2 separate regions of the Homo sapiens genome follow, and region 1 is linked to region 2. Evidence: promoter capture Hi-C in 16 types of primary human blood cells and fetal thymus (Javierre and others, 2016). All regions are on one chromosome and are shown on one strand. Each heading gives the region's core, a stretch centred on a gene start or on the middle of the fragment in contact. The rest is flanking DNA. Distances are from core to core; before and after follow the strand shown. Region 1 overlaps IQGAP2 (IQ motif containing GTPase activating protein 2). Region 2 holds the start of SV2C (synaptic vesicle glycoprotein 2C).

Evidence for each region. The method cuts DNA at HindIII sites, captures the fragments that hold promoters and counts their contacts. A CHiCAGO score of 5 or more calls a contact.
Region 1: a contact is called between a fragment that was not itself captured here and the fragment with the promoter of SV2C in region 2, in 1 of 17 cell types (naive CD4 T cells). The highest score is 5.8, in naive CD4 T cells.

What each region holds. Positions count from the first base shown.
Region 1 is chr5:76,548,610-76,554,746 of GRCh38, reverse strand. All of the region lies in intron 2 of IQGAP2 (IQ motif containing GTPase activating protein 2), which reads right to left. Among named protein-coding and RNA genes, the nearest start is that of F2RL2, 72 kb to the left of the region's middle. The HindIII fragment of the contact is 5,305 bases long and covers 1,968-6,137 here.
Region 2 is chr5:76,077,849-76,084,923 of GRCh38, reverse strand. It overlaps SV2C (synaptic vesicle glycoprotein 2C), which reads right to left and starts at 1,541. Exons shown (of 13, transcript NM_014979.4): 1 at 1,412-1,541. It overlaps SV2C-AS1 (SV2C antisense RNA 1), which reads left to right and starts at 1,507. Exons shown (of 2, transcript NR_183290.1): 1 at 1,507-2,005; 2 at 2,528-3,518. It also overlaps the pseudogene LOC100132039. RefSeq lists an enhancer at 2,177-2,730. The HindIII fragment of the contact is 14,928 bases long and covers 1-7,075 here.

The sequences.
Region 1 (6,137 bases), core at 3,371-5,870, 470 kb before region 2:
CAGACTGTTTTCCAAAACAGCTGTACCACTTCCCATTCTCACCAGCAGTGTATGAGGATTTCAATTTCTTCACATCCTTACCAATATTCTTCTGTCTTTTTGATTACAGCCATCCTAGTGGATGCAAAGTGGCATCTCATTATGGTTTTGATTTTCATTTCCCTGATGGCTAATGATATTCAGCTTCTTTTTATATGCATATAGCCCATTTATATACTTTTGGAGAAATGTCTTTCAAATCTATTGCTCATGTTTTAGTTGAATTATTTGTCTTTTTACTTTTGAGTTATAAGAGTTCCTTACATATTCAGTATACAAGATTCTTATTTGGTATATGATTTGAAAGTGTTTCCTCCATTCTGTGAGCCGTCTTTTCACTTTCTTAATGGTGTTATCTGAAGCAAAAATGTTTTTATCTTGATGAAGTCTCATTTATCTATTTCTTCTTTTGTTGTTTATATTTTTGGTATTTTATATGTTATATATTTATACCTATGTTTTCTTCTCTTTTATCTCATAGTTTAGGTCTTTGATCCATTTTGAACTACTTTCTGTATATGATGTGAGGTGAGAGTCTAACTTCATTCTTTTGCATGTGGCTACCCAGTTGTCCCAGCACCACCAGTTGAAAAGACTACCTTTGTTGAACTGTCTTGGCACCTTTATTGAAAATTAACTGACTGTACAAGTGAGTGTTCATTTCTGAACTCTAAATTCTAGTCCAATCTATATGTCTATGACTTATGTACAGATAGTACATAAAGTGTGCATACATAAAATCAAGTTAGAGATACTTCATGTGTCATCAAGAGCCTGTGTTCAAATTTGGCCTAAAAATCCACAGAAACGAAAACCAGAATATTCCCCCTTCCCCACCAACACTGTCCTTGCATTCACTGCTTCTTCCCCATTCTTTCTATTGACTAGTTTATTGGCCCACAACCCCAATATGTGAATGTCTTGTTTCAAAGCAAAAGTTTAAGCTATTTCTTATGAGCATCTTATGGGTTGCTAGAGAACCTCATCTTCCTTTTTAGGGTGGGACTACTTGTGGCAGAAGGGGAGAGAAAGGAGAAATCTTTCAAATTTTAGGGCAAGAAGAAAAATTCTGTCTTGTGGGAGAAAAAAGAAAAAGAAAAAGAAACCACCCCACAAAAATCCTGAAGCAAACAATCCTTTCTATTGTACTACTTTGTGCCTTGCAGAACATACGAAAGTTGTTTTGTGGAGGCATTTGCTATCTGAGTTGTTACTCAGGAAATCACCAACTATAAATCTTGGTCTGTATCATACAGTGCTGTATGGAATAAGTATCCTGACGGTAGAACTGCTGGCCAAGAACAGAAAAATGTGTTTTATTTGCATAAGCCCTGTTTTAATGCAGTGCCCTGTTCTATGAACTTTCAAGTATCACAAGTCAATTTTTCCCTTAATATTTTAAAAATCAGCACATAAGACATATTCTAAAAGAATATAAGAATATCTGGACTTTGTTTTTATGTATAGCATAGTTGGTCATTTTCCACCTTCTGTGTCAACAGGCAGTAAAAGCATCAGAAGGACTAAGTTAAGTTCTCATGGCAAAACTTTTCATTAGCTGGAGGCCAATGCAAAACTGCCACCATGATTCCATTAGCCTTATTAGCCCAGGGGAACGTGGCTGTAGGAACCCACCCTGCAAAACTAAAGTGGGCATCTACGGGCCCCTATCTTTCTCTCATACAAAACTTATTTGGTTCACTCTAAGAAAGTGACATGAAAGGCTAATTATTTTCTTTAGTAAAATTTTTGCTTTGCTTTAAGAATGCTAATTATTTTCCTTAAAACACAGGCACACAATACCATGAAAAGAATCAACATATGACTTCAAGATCTAGTAGGAGTGGAACAGACTGCAGAGGACTTATGTCTCACTCTTCTCTTTCAGGGGGAGATGATATAGTATAATCTGTTGAGTTTGGCAAGCTTCCCCAAACTGTGTTCCACAGAACGTTGTCTCAGATGCTAAGAGAGACTGTTGCTAGAAATATGGACATGAAAGGTGATTCTAGTGAGATTTTAGACAGAAATGAGGAACATGTTATTAGACACTGAAAAAAGGCAATCCTTGTTATAAAATGGCCAAGAACATTGCTGAATTGCATTTTTGTGTTTTGTGGAAGGTAGAGCTTGTAAGTGACAACCTTGGATATTCTGCTGAGATTTCTAAGCCAAGTGTTGAAAGCCTGTTGTGCTTTCCTTGCCACTTTCCTTTCTCCTTACTGCTTCTATTAAAGTGCAAGAGAAGTGAGAGAAATTAAAGAAAAAATTGTTAGGCTAAACAAACCAGAACTTAAAGATCTGGAAAATTCTCAGCTTATCCATATTGCAAAAAAATGAGAATGTGTTCTGGAGAGGGCACCAACAGTGTGACTGGACAATCACTCCCTAAAGAGTGACAGTGGGACTCACAGATCTAATTGGCCATCTCAACAGAAGCCAGGAATAGAGACGGGGTTCTACCAGTAGCAGAAACACTGCTGACTTGGACTAAAGGGGACAGAGACAGGACACAACAGCAGCAGGCTTCTGAGATGCTACAGGATGGGACAATAGATCTATCTGGCTCTGGGTGTGAGCATGTATTATCCTTCAAGAAAAAGGAAGAATGGTCCCTAAAGCTACTACTCTCACCCCACAACGAAAGTGTTCAGGCCCAGGGGCGAGGAAGGCTCTCTTCCATTTCAAAGGGTGAGGCTCTCTCTGTCTCAGTGTGAGAGGGTGAGGCTGTCATTGTCCAAGGCCTCAAAAGCAAGGCTGCCACCTGGGGCCTTGAAGAAATTCTGCCAGTCCTCTCCCTCCCCCTCCCCTCCCCCTCCCCTCCCCCTCCCCCTCTCCGTCTCCCTCTCCCGTCTCCCTCTTTGCAAGGTCTCCCTCTGATGCCCAGCGGAGGCTGGACTGTACTGCCGCCATCTCGGCTCACTGCAACCTCCCTGCCTGATTCTCCTGCCTCAGCCTGCAGAGTGCCTGGGATTGCAGGCACGCGCAGCCACGCCTGACTGGTTTTTGCATTTTTTGGTGGAGACGGGGTTTCGCCGTGTTGGCTGGGCTGGTCTCCAGCTCTGGACCGCGAGTGATCTGCCTGCCTCGGCCTCCCGAGGTGCCGGGATTGCAGACGGAGTCTCGCTCACTCAGTGCTCAATGTTGCCCAGGCTGGAGTGCAGTGACGTGATCTCGGCTCGCTACAACCTCCACCTCCCAGCCGCCTGCCTTGGCCTCCCAAAGTGCCGAGATTGCAGCCTCTGCCCGGCCGCCACCCTGTCTGGGAAGTGAGGAGTGTCTCTGCCTGGCCGCCCATCATCTGGGATGTGAGGAGCCCCTCTGCCCGGCCGCCCAGTCTGGGAAGTGAGGAGTGCCTCTTCCCAGCTGCCATCCCATCTAGGAAGTGAGGAGCATCTCTGCCCGGCCGCCCATCATCTGAGATGTGGGGAGCGCCTCTGCCCCGCCGCCCCGTCTGGGATGTGAGGGATGTGAGGATTGCCTCTGCCCGGCCCCGACCCCGTCTGGGAGGTGAGGAGCGTCTCTGCCCGACCGCCACCCCGTCTGGGAGGTGAGGAGCGTCTCTGCCCGGCCGCCCCATCTGAGAAGTGAGGAGCCCCTCCGCCCCGCAGCCGCCCCGTCTGGGAAGTGAGGAGCCCCTCCGCCCGGCAGCCACCCCGTCCGGGAAGTGAGGAGCCTCTCTGCCCGGCCAGCCACCCCCGTCCGGGAGGGAGGTGGGGGGCAGCCCCCGCCCGGCCAGTCGCCCCATCCGGGAGGGAGGTGAGGGGCGCCTCTGCCTGGCCGCCCCGTGTGGGAAGTGAGGAGCCCCTCTGCCCGGCCGCCACCCCGTCTAGGAGGTGTACCCAACAGCTCATTGAGAACGGGCCATGATGACGATGGCGGTTTTGTCAAATAGAAAAGGGGGAAATGTGGGGAAAAGAAAGAGAGATCAGATTGTTACTGTGTCTGTGTAGAAAGAAGTAGACATGGGAGACTCCATTTTGTTCTGTACTAAGAAAAATTCTTCTGCCTTGTGATCCTGTTGATCGGTGACCCTACCCCCAACCCCGTGCTCTCTGAAACATGTGCTGTGTCCACTCAGAGTTAAACGGATTAAGGGCGGTGCAAGATGTGCTTTGTTAAACAGATGCTTGAAGGCAGCATGCTCCTTAAGAGTCATCACCACTCCCTAATCTCAAGTACCCAGGGACACAAACACTGCGGAAGGCAGCAGGGTCCTCTGCCTAGGAAAACCAGAGACCCTTGTTCACATGTTTATCTGCTGACCTTCCCTCCACTATTGTCCTATGACCCTGCCAAATCCCCCACTCCGAGAAACACCCAAGAATGATCAATAAATACTGAAAAAAAAAAAAAAAAAATTCTGCCAGCCCAATGGGCCTGGAGGACAGATCATCATGTAAAAAGAATTATTTTCAGGCCTTAAAATTGAACATAATTTGCCCAGCTAGGTTTTGGACTTGCTTTGGACCCATGACCCTTTTTTCTTCCTTCCAAGTTTTCCCTTTTGGAATGGAAATGTCTATCCTAAGCCTGTCCCCATCATTGTATTTTGGAAGCAAATAACTTGTCTGGTTTCACGGGTTCACAGCTGGAGAAGAATTTTTGCCTCAAGATGAATCATATACTTGAGTCTCTCTCACTTTGATGTAGATGATATTTAGATGAGATTTGGGACTTAGAATTGATGCTAGAATGGGTTAAGGCTTAGGTTGTTGAATGCAGGTGAATGTATTTTGCTGTGAGGAGGACATGAATTTTGGGGGTGCAGAGGGCAGAGTGTTATGGTCAGAACTGTGTTCCCCTCCCCAAATTTATATGTTGAAGTCCTAACCCCTAATACCTCAAAATGAGACTGTATTTGAAGACAGGGCCTTTAAAGAGATGGTTAAGTTAAAATGAGGTGATTAGGTGTGGCTACTGTCCTTATAAGAAAAGGTGATCAGGGCACAGAGAGCTCCCAGGGCTGAACGCTCATAGAGGGAAGACAGAAGGACATAGTGAAAGGGCCATCTGCAAAGCCGAGGACAGAGGCCTCAGAAGAAACCAAACACATTGACACCTTGCTCTTGGATTTCCAGCCTCCAAAACTGTGAGAAAGTAAATTTCTGTTGTTTAAGCCTCCCAATCTGTGGTATTTTGTTTATGGCAGCCTGAACAAACTAATACACTAGCTAAAACATCAACTCCCATCATCCTCTAAAATTCCTCACCCAATTTTCTCTTCACTGCATTTATTACTACCTGGCAGACTAGATATAATACTTATTAGTTTGACTGGCTCACTCAGTTAGACTGTGAATTCTACAATAGCAAGGACCTTATCTGTCTTGAGAGGCATCTAACACAATGGTTGAAAGCACACACACACACACACACACACACACTCCAGAGCTCGACGCCTGAGACTGAACCAAAGCTCTGCCACTTACCAGTTACGTGCCCCTTGGGTAACTGAATTAATCTGAGTCTGTTTCCTAATCTACAAAATGGGATAATAATAGAACTGCTTCCAAGGGCTAATAGGAGAAAAGCACTAGAACAGTGCCTGGCATATAGTAGGTACCTTTCATGGTAGCTATTGTAGTTTTTACTGCTCACCACCATATCCCAGACCATGCCCCGCCAATATGATTCACTGTTCACACCTGACCTTCAGCAGTATTTGTTTAGTTCAGCACTGTTTAGCCATACAGACTTCCTTGCGCAGGAAGTATGCCAGCATTTTGACTATCAAACATGCCTTCTTCTCCCATCCCAGTCTGTTGCACCCCCTGAACAAATCCACTCCTCCTGCTAAACACATCCTATTGCCTTACACTAGATACACTCTTAAATGGCATTTAGTAGGGGCTATGTAAATATTTACATATGTTCAGGAGAGCCAGGTTTCTGCTATAATGAGACTCCCACTCTACTGATAATGCCAATGGCAAACAATTGCAGCTCACATTTACTTAGCACATGGACTAGCACTTAGCAGGTACTTGGCACTTATATGAATGTATTCTCACACTAATCTGATGAGATTGATATCACTCCCCTTTAATAGAGAAGGAAGAAGAGGCTCAGAGAGTTAAGTAATTTGCTCAAGATTA
Region 2 (7,075 bases), core at 292-2,791:
TTCCCGGCACTGCGGCGCACTGCGGAGCCGCCTGCCCGCCAGCCCAGGCCGTGCGGGGCTTTCCTCGCCGCCCCGCGCCGCCGCAGTCCTCCCGCCCCCCTCTGCCCCGCCGGGTCGCCGCTCTCCGCGCCAGGCGCGCCGCGGGGCATCCATCAACCCAGAGCTTTTGACGCACACACGCGCGCTCCCAGACGGAGACTCCGTCGCCTGCCCCCGCCCGCCACCCCCGCCCGCCCCTCGCGGGTCTGCATTTGCATCACTCGCACACGTAGAAGGTGACGCGAGCGCCCCCAGCTCAGGCCGTCCAGGCGGCACCTCTAGCCCCCGTGGCTCAGCCCCTCCCCCCGCCCCCGCGCGCCGCCTAAGGTCCCCGCACGCCCACAGATCTGCTCCCGATTGTTCATCTGCCGTGGGGTGCTGGCTGCCCCAAGCCAAGTTCATCCCCGTATTCCGCAGTCCCCGTGGGCCCAGCCCGGGGCGCTCCCCGCGACGCTCTGGAGAAAAGTCTTCCCAGTTCTAGAACCCAGGCGGAAGGGGAAAAGCCCACTAAGAGAAAGGGTCAGAGGGTCGGCTGATGGCTTTTGCTGCCCTCATCGCCATCTAAGATTACCTCGGTAGCTTATTTACTGCGATTGGTCCCTCTCCCCTCTGAGCTTCACAGCCTCGGGTCTGCTTCGCCTGGCCTGGCGCACAGCAGGCGCCCAAAAGGTTTTTGCTGAATGAAGGCGTTGTAACGTAGGAAGTGCAGGCGCTGACAAAGAGCCTCAGCCCCGCGGGCTCCCCTGCTCTCCAGCCCTCTCTTGCTCTCTCTTAGACGCCAGACAGGCGCTTCGGGAATGTATGTGGGAGAGTTTGAAAATTCATGGTGTTTCTTTCAGGCTCTCTCAGCACTTACTGCGGCTACCTCTGCTCTCCCGCCACCTGCACGTCTGCAGAGGGATCCCCGCCGAAAAGTTGAGCCTAAGGCAGCTATGAAGGTATAGGTCCAGGTACCCAGCCCGGGGCTCTAGGCTGCTAGATTTGAATCTGCCTATCCCTGCCGGTCAAACCACACAAGCAAAAAAGAGCGTGGCGGTCGCTGCAGATGCGGCCCCTGCATCCCCGCTGCTGCCCACCCACCTCCTCTGGGAATCCCAGATAAAGTGCGACCCAGTCCCCAGACCTACCCTAGCGAACCCTGGGGTCACTGCATCTATTTTACCCCTACTTTCCTGGTCCCTCTCCAACAAAGGCGCCTACAAAGCAGCGGGCACCTGCAGCCGCTTCCCCGGGGGCAGGCGGGGCAAAGTTGCGCTTCCGAAAGGCTGCAAAAACTTCCCCAGGCTGCAGCGCCCGGCCACCAGTCGGGAAGAGAAATCCAGCAGCGGGGGAAAGTCTCCCCGCGGATGCCCGCTTCACCTCCCCCACTCACCGCTCCAGCCGTCGGACACCCTTGCCCTGAGTGGTGTCAGCACTGCAGCCGCCTCAGTGCGGGCGCCGCTCCGGCTCGCTTCCCCGGGCTGCCTCCGTCTGCCACTCTCGCCTGCAGCGCGCGGAGTGGTGACTCCTCTGAGCGTGTCAGCGGCGAGAGGAGGGGCGGGAAAGTGGCTCCCGGCTTGCACGCTGCGGTCCTCCTCCTCTCCTCCGCCTGCCTCCTCCCCCTGGTGCTGCAGTGCCGGGCGGCGGCGTGGCGAGAGTACCAGCGGTGCGCAGGGAGTCACGGCGCGCGGGGGAGGCGGGACCCGCGCGCCACTCGCGGTGCTCCGGCAAGTCGCGGTGCTGAGGCGCTGCTGCGGTGTGGGACTGGGGCAGGGGGCGGGGAAGGAGAGCCACCTCCAAGTGGTAGGTACTTCTGGAGAAGTCAGGGCTCTGAGTTTGTAGCAGGTGAAGGAGAGGGGCGGCAGTCCTTAATTAGTCACCAACTGTGACTGTGCGTTGCGCACTTGGCGGCGCCCCGGGTCAGGTCCAGCGTGAGACGCGAGGGAGTTCTGACTGCTGGACTCTGTTAGCACCGGACAAAAAGAGGGTTTGTATTCTATTTCCGGGCCTGGGACTGACTTGTTCACTTCGACTTGGCTTCCAGGGAGCAACCAGGCAGAGCTAGGTTGCCTACTTCCCCCAGCCCCCACCCCGACGCTGGAAGACAAGTCCAGAGGAAACTTGGGCACAGCAAGAGCAAACAGAAGAAAACTTCGCTGGGTTAAGTCTACTGTCTCCCCAATGCTACATAGGGCCAGACAGCTGGGCTCACAGGCAGATATTGAAAGTGGCCCCTTAGAGGGGAAACAACCAAATATGAGGGGGGGGGGGTGGAGAGAGAGATAGAGAGAGAGAGAGGAGGAGGAGGAAGAAAGAAAGAAAGAAAGAAAAAGAGAAAGAAAGAAAGGAGGAGGAGGGAGAAAGAGAGAGGAGAGAAGAGAGAGAGAGAGGGAGAGAGAGAGAGAATTTTGCTTGTGTTGTTAGAAACAAACATTTCTCCCCTTGGCGTGCAGGAGAGAGAATTTTGCTTGTGTTGTCAGAAACAAACATTTCTCCCCTTGGCGTGCAGGAGACCCCAACTCGAGCTTCACTGTTCCAAAGCGGTGGGCCAGGCGGCTGGAGAGAAACTCGCTCCCGTGAGGCCACACCCAGGCCTGGCGCACCCACCCCGCGGCAGCAGTGGAGGGCGTCGCCCTCCCGGGCCTTCCGACGCAGACCCTGCCATCCGGATGCTGCGGGAAGTAGGGCATCCTCACGTCCCTGACTCCTCCGGCTCCGCGCGCTCACGGAACCCAAGTGGAGTGGGAAGCGGTCACACAGGCGTGTGCCGTCCCCGAAATCGTTGCTCCTGTGGTGGTGACCCAAAGCGAGACAAAGCGCCGCGCCAATACGGGCTGCAGTGATTGGAACTCAAACACACACATCTCTCCGCGAATGTGTTCCATCCGTGTAAATATGCCTGGGTGATTGAATGGATGGCTGAATGAACGCTGTGTGGATAGAAATATAAATGTTACATGTATAATACAGGCGCCGGGGAAGGAGAGCTGTCAGGCACCCCCAGGCTGGAGCCTCCTGCCCAGAGGAGCCGGTGGAGACAGGCGGTTCGCCCAGGGCGGTGTTGTTAGCTTGGGCTTTCCAGTTCGATTTGTGCCACTATGCAGGATACTGTGAAGAGAAGAAAATGGAGACAACTCTTGGCCTCTCATTTTCCCTCCTCTCTGGTTCAGACACTCTGGCACTAAAAGTTATGATTCTCATGTGCTGTTGAACCTACACTTCCTTGCTGGTCTGTCTTGTTCCGGTGAGAGGCTTTGCAGTCTGTGACCATGGTGCTATGAGATGGTCAGGCAATATGAAAATTAGTGAACGTGCTCATTTTCATTTCGTGGATTCTTCTTAGTAAAATAATTATTTAAATAGTTAAATAATTTAAATAGTTAAATAATTTAAATAATTATTTAGGCTAAAATTAATGTGCTGCTACTATGACAAGGAAGTGCCTATGAATCCAGCATTGGAAATACAATTGTGAAATTAAAAAATAAATCCTATCTGGATTCCCCGCATGTTATTTATAAAAATTTGAGCTTCCAACTGCAAAATGTGCTGGCAATTCACTGAGTTCTCAAACGGTTACCTTTTTGAGAACCTCCCCTAAACTGTTGCAGAATAATGGATTGTTTCTCCAAGTGATGGAAGTTCAGAAAACCATGAAACAAACTTTAAACGTGATCAACGTTCTTTATGCTATGCTGTATCTTCCTTAAATTATTCTCCTATCTTGTCCGTGGAAGATATTTTTTTAAAGTGGGTTGATTTTTCTACTTCTGGATTTTCGTGTCTTGATGCATTTGAAGGTAACAGCTCCTTTAGGAAAATCCCTGATTGTGATTTTGCCTGAAACATCCCATTTAAGACCAGGTTGCACTGGAAAAGGCTATTTTAACGTTGTGTCTTTGGAGGACATGAAACATTGTGTCATGATGATGTTGTGCCCTGGTTCCTGGACTTGCCCTCTAAAGCAGTTCTGGTTCTAGGGTCCTGCCTGGCACACACCTTGGCCCCAGGCCCCTTGGATCCAGCACTCAGACTAGTTTTATTCATGCCTTCATTATAATGAAATGTTTTCTCTCTTCTGAAAACACTTGTCTTGTAGAAGCGGATGGAGTGAAAAGGGGTATACCCTCCATCCCCACAGAATCCCAGTACTCTAAAGTCATTGCTCTCCTACACCTCAGGACTTTTGTTCCTCAATGCAGGGTGTCGTCTTGTGATGCTAAAAAACAAGCTGTGAAAGACACCTAATGAGCATGAGAGGTCTGTTTTCGCATCAGCAAAGTGGTTTTCATAAAAATAATTCACACTAAGTACAGATGCTATAGTGGTTATATTTTATAATATACACAAGAAGCACAGTGCCTAGTACACAATGGGTATAGAATAAATGTCAGTTGCTCTTCCTCTTTTAGTAGTCAGGGCAAGGTTTTCCAAAGCCTGCGCTTTGGAGAACTGGTTTTGTAAGATGCTCTGGAAAGTCAGAGTTACACCTGGCTTCCACAGCAGATGTCTGAAGACAGCCCCATACTCTTGGACCAAGTCCACACAGCTCTCCACTTCTCCTCACTATCATCAGGAGTCTATAGCAAAGTGCAGACACCTACTCTTCTTACCCCAACACTCAGCTTCCACAACACTCAAAACTATTTTTTGTCTCTTTTGTAATTTTAATCGAAGTATTACTATTCATTTTTTTTAAACTCTGTCTTATAAGCACCACATTTTAATATCTAAGTCAATATTGGGTGAAAGAAACACCACCAAGAACTTCCCTCCAGAACAAAACAATGATGTTCATTCCTCCAAACATCCAAATTGAAAGTCTATCACAACCAAAACAAAAAAACAAAGCCCACGGAGAAATAAAAAGTAACAAAAATCACATTCTAGGGTGTTAGTGCATTTGGCAGTCTTTGCTGTGCTGTTGAACCATCCTTCAGCTGGCTTTCAAAAAAAAAAACACCCTAAGCTCATCAAAATATACATTTGCCATTTGCTTTTTAAAATTAAAAATAATAATTAAAAAGAAAACTTCAAGGAATTCACAATCAATTGCCTGACTTGTTTCAATGTCATGTACAGCATATGGAAGTGAAAAAGGCCATTTGCAGCACCTGTGATTAAGGGATATTCATCTTCAGGGTTTAGCTTTCTTCCAGACAGCGTAAAATACCCACAATTCGAAGTTTGAAGGGACATAGACGATCTCCTTTGAGAATTCCACAAGGCAATACAGGCACCCAAGCTGTTCTTCATAGAGTGGCAGGGCTTCTGTCAGATTGACACAGTTTGCCTGTGTAAAATATTTCCCATCCTGTTTCAATACATTCATTCATGGGTCAAAAATCAGTCTGAGAAACTCCCACATGGAATCTTGTTCCAGAGATGTGGAGATTGGAACAGCTGTCAAATCGTTAGTCACACAATCCAATTCTCTCCCTTCTTTGGTGTGCCTCTTCAGTATTGGAATGCAGTCTTCTATCAGAGCCTGATAGCAGCCTCCTTTAAGATTGTCTACAACATCACCACATGTTTTTTGCATATATTTCTTACATCCATCAATCACCATTTGGTCAATCTCTACCATAGTGACCATCTTTGATTTTAGTTTGACTATTTCTCATAATATGCCCCCATCTCAGCCTCTGAGAAGCAGTACCTCTTTGCCAGTGAAATCTGCTTTGCTGCTGCCCGTGATGGCCCAGGTATATGCCAAATCACTCTGCCGAATCAACATCCCTACTAAGGATGAGAATATTTCCAAATTGCTTCTAGTGTAGAATTGTAATGTTCCAATAAGGTGAATCTTCATTGTACACCACTTCATCTATGTCATATTCAACCAGGCGCCCATCGGTGGTGGACCAATGTCTGTTGATGGCCCCTCTTCAAACTACAGGTGGTAATCGCTTCACCAGCCCAGTACTGTCTTGACTCAATTCTTTCATTCTTTTTTCTACATTGTTTGAAAGGCTGTCGATCTCTTCTTTGCCCTGCAAGTCATCATTGTAACTCTGAAGGTCCAGCAACACCAATCCATGTAGGTAAATTCTCAAATTGGCAAAGATGCTGTTTTTGTGTTTCTGTCTGTAGGTTGCTAACTAGCCATTAACCTGCCAGGTGTGCAGACTCTGCCATCCCCTGCTCCTGGAAAATGGACTGGAGGCCTTTTAGAATGGTCTTGCCATCAGCTTTGGCACCGAGCATGAAGTTGATCTTGCTGTGCCATGCTGCTGTGACAGTGAGGCGAGGCCCTCCCTGTGCCATGCCTCCGGTAGGTGGCTGTGGGAGCCAGGGGGTAGGGGCATGCCCGTGTCAGGCTGTGGCCCGCGGGAGTCAAAACAGTATGTTTTGAGTCTACCAATGTTCGTCTTGTTAAGCCCTTAATGCCTGCTTGTATCAGTGAACACAAGAAGCCCCAAAATCTCAAGTGCTTTTCTCATCTCTTACATTCTAATACTCATAAGGCTCAGCACATCCAGTATTCTGTCCCTTTCTCACTATCCAGCTCCTGAAACCCTCTGACTATGCCTCCTGGACTTCAAAGTCCACTGTTAGCAAAATGCCCAATATCCTCAACCTCATCTCCAAGTATTCTCTTCACCTTTCTATTCTCATGGAAGTATGGCTTGCCCTCCTAAGAGGCTGCTCTCCCACAACCCTCTCAAGTGATGGCTGACTTTTCCCTCCAATGCTTGCATCACTTGTGTCTGGAGATAGGAAGGTGATGTCCTTGTTCTGCATTGCTACTTCCAGAACATTCTTCATCCCTCCTCCCTGAAACCTACTGCTATAAATCTCCTTTCATCAGGTTATTTCACCCACTACTCTTAGATGTGGCTAGCATGCTCAGACCTCCAGGTCACTCTACAACTTTCCTGATTGACTCCTAAGTTGATGTCACTTCCTGAACACTAATCCTGCCTTAATCCTTGGCAATTTAGTATACACACAGGTATTCATTCCAACCAGTACAATCCTTGGACCTGGGCAAACAAGGGGTTGGTCTCCATGCTCCATATATTAAACAACTCTAAAGTTTAAGAGGCCACCTCTC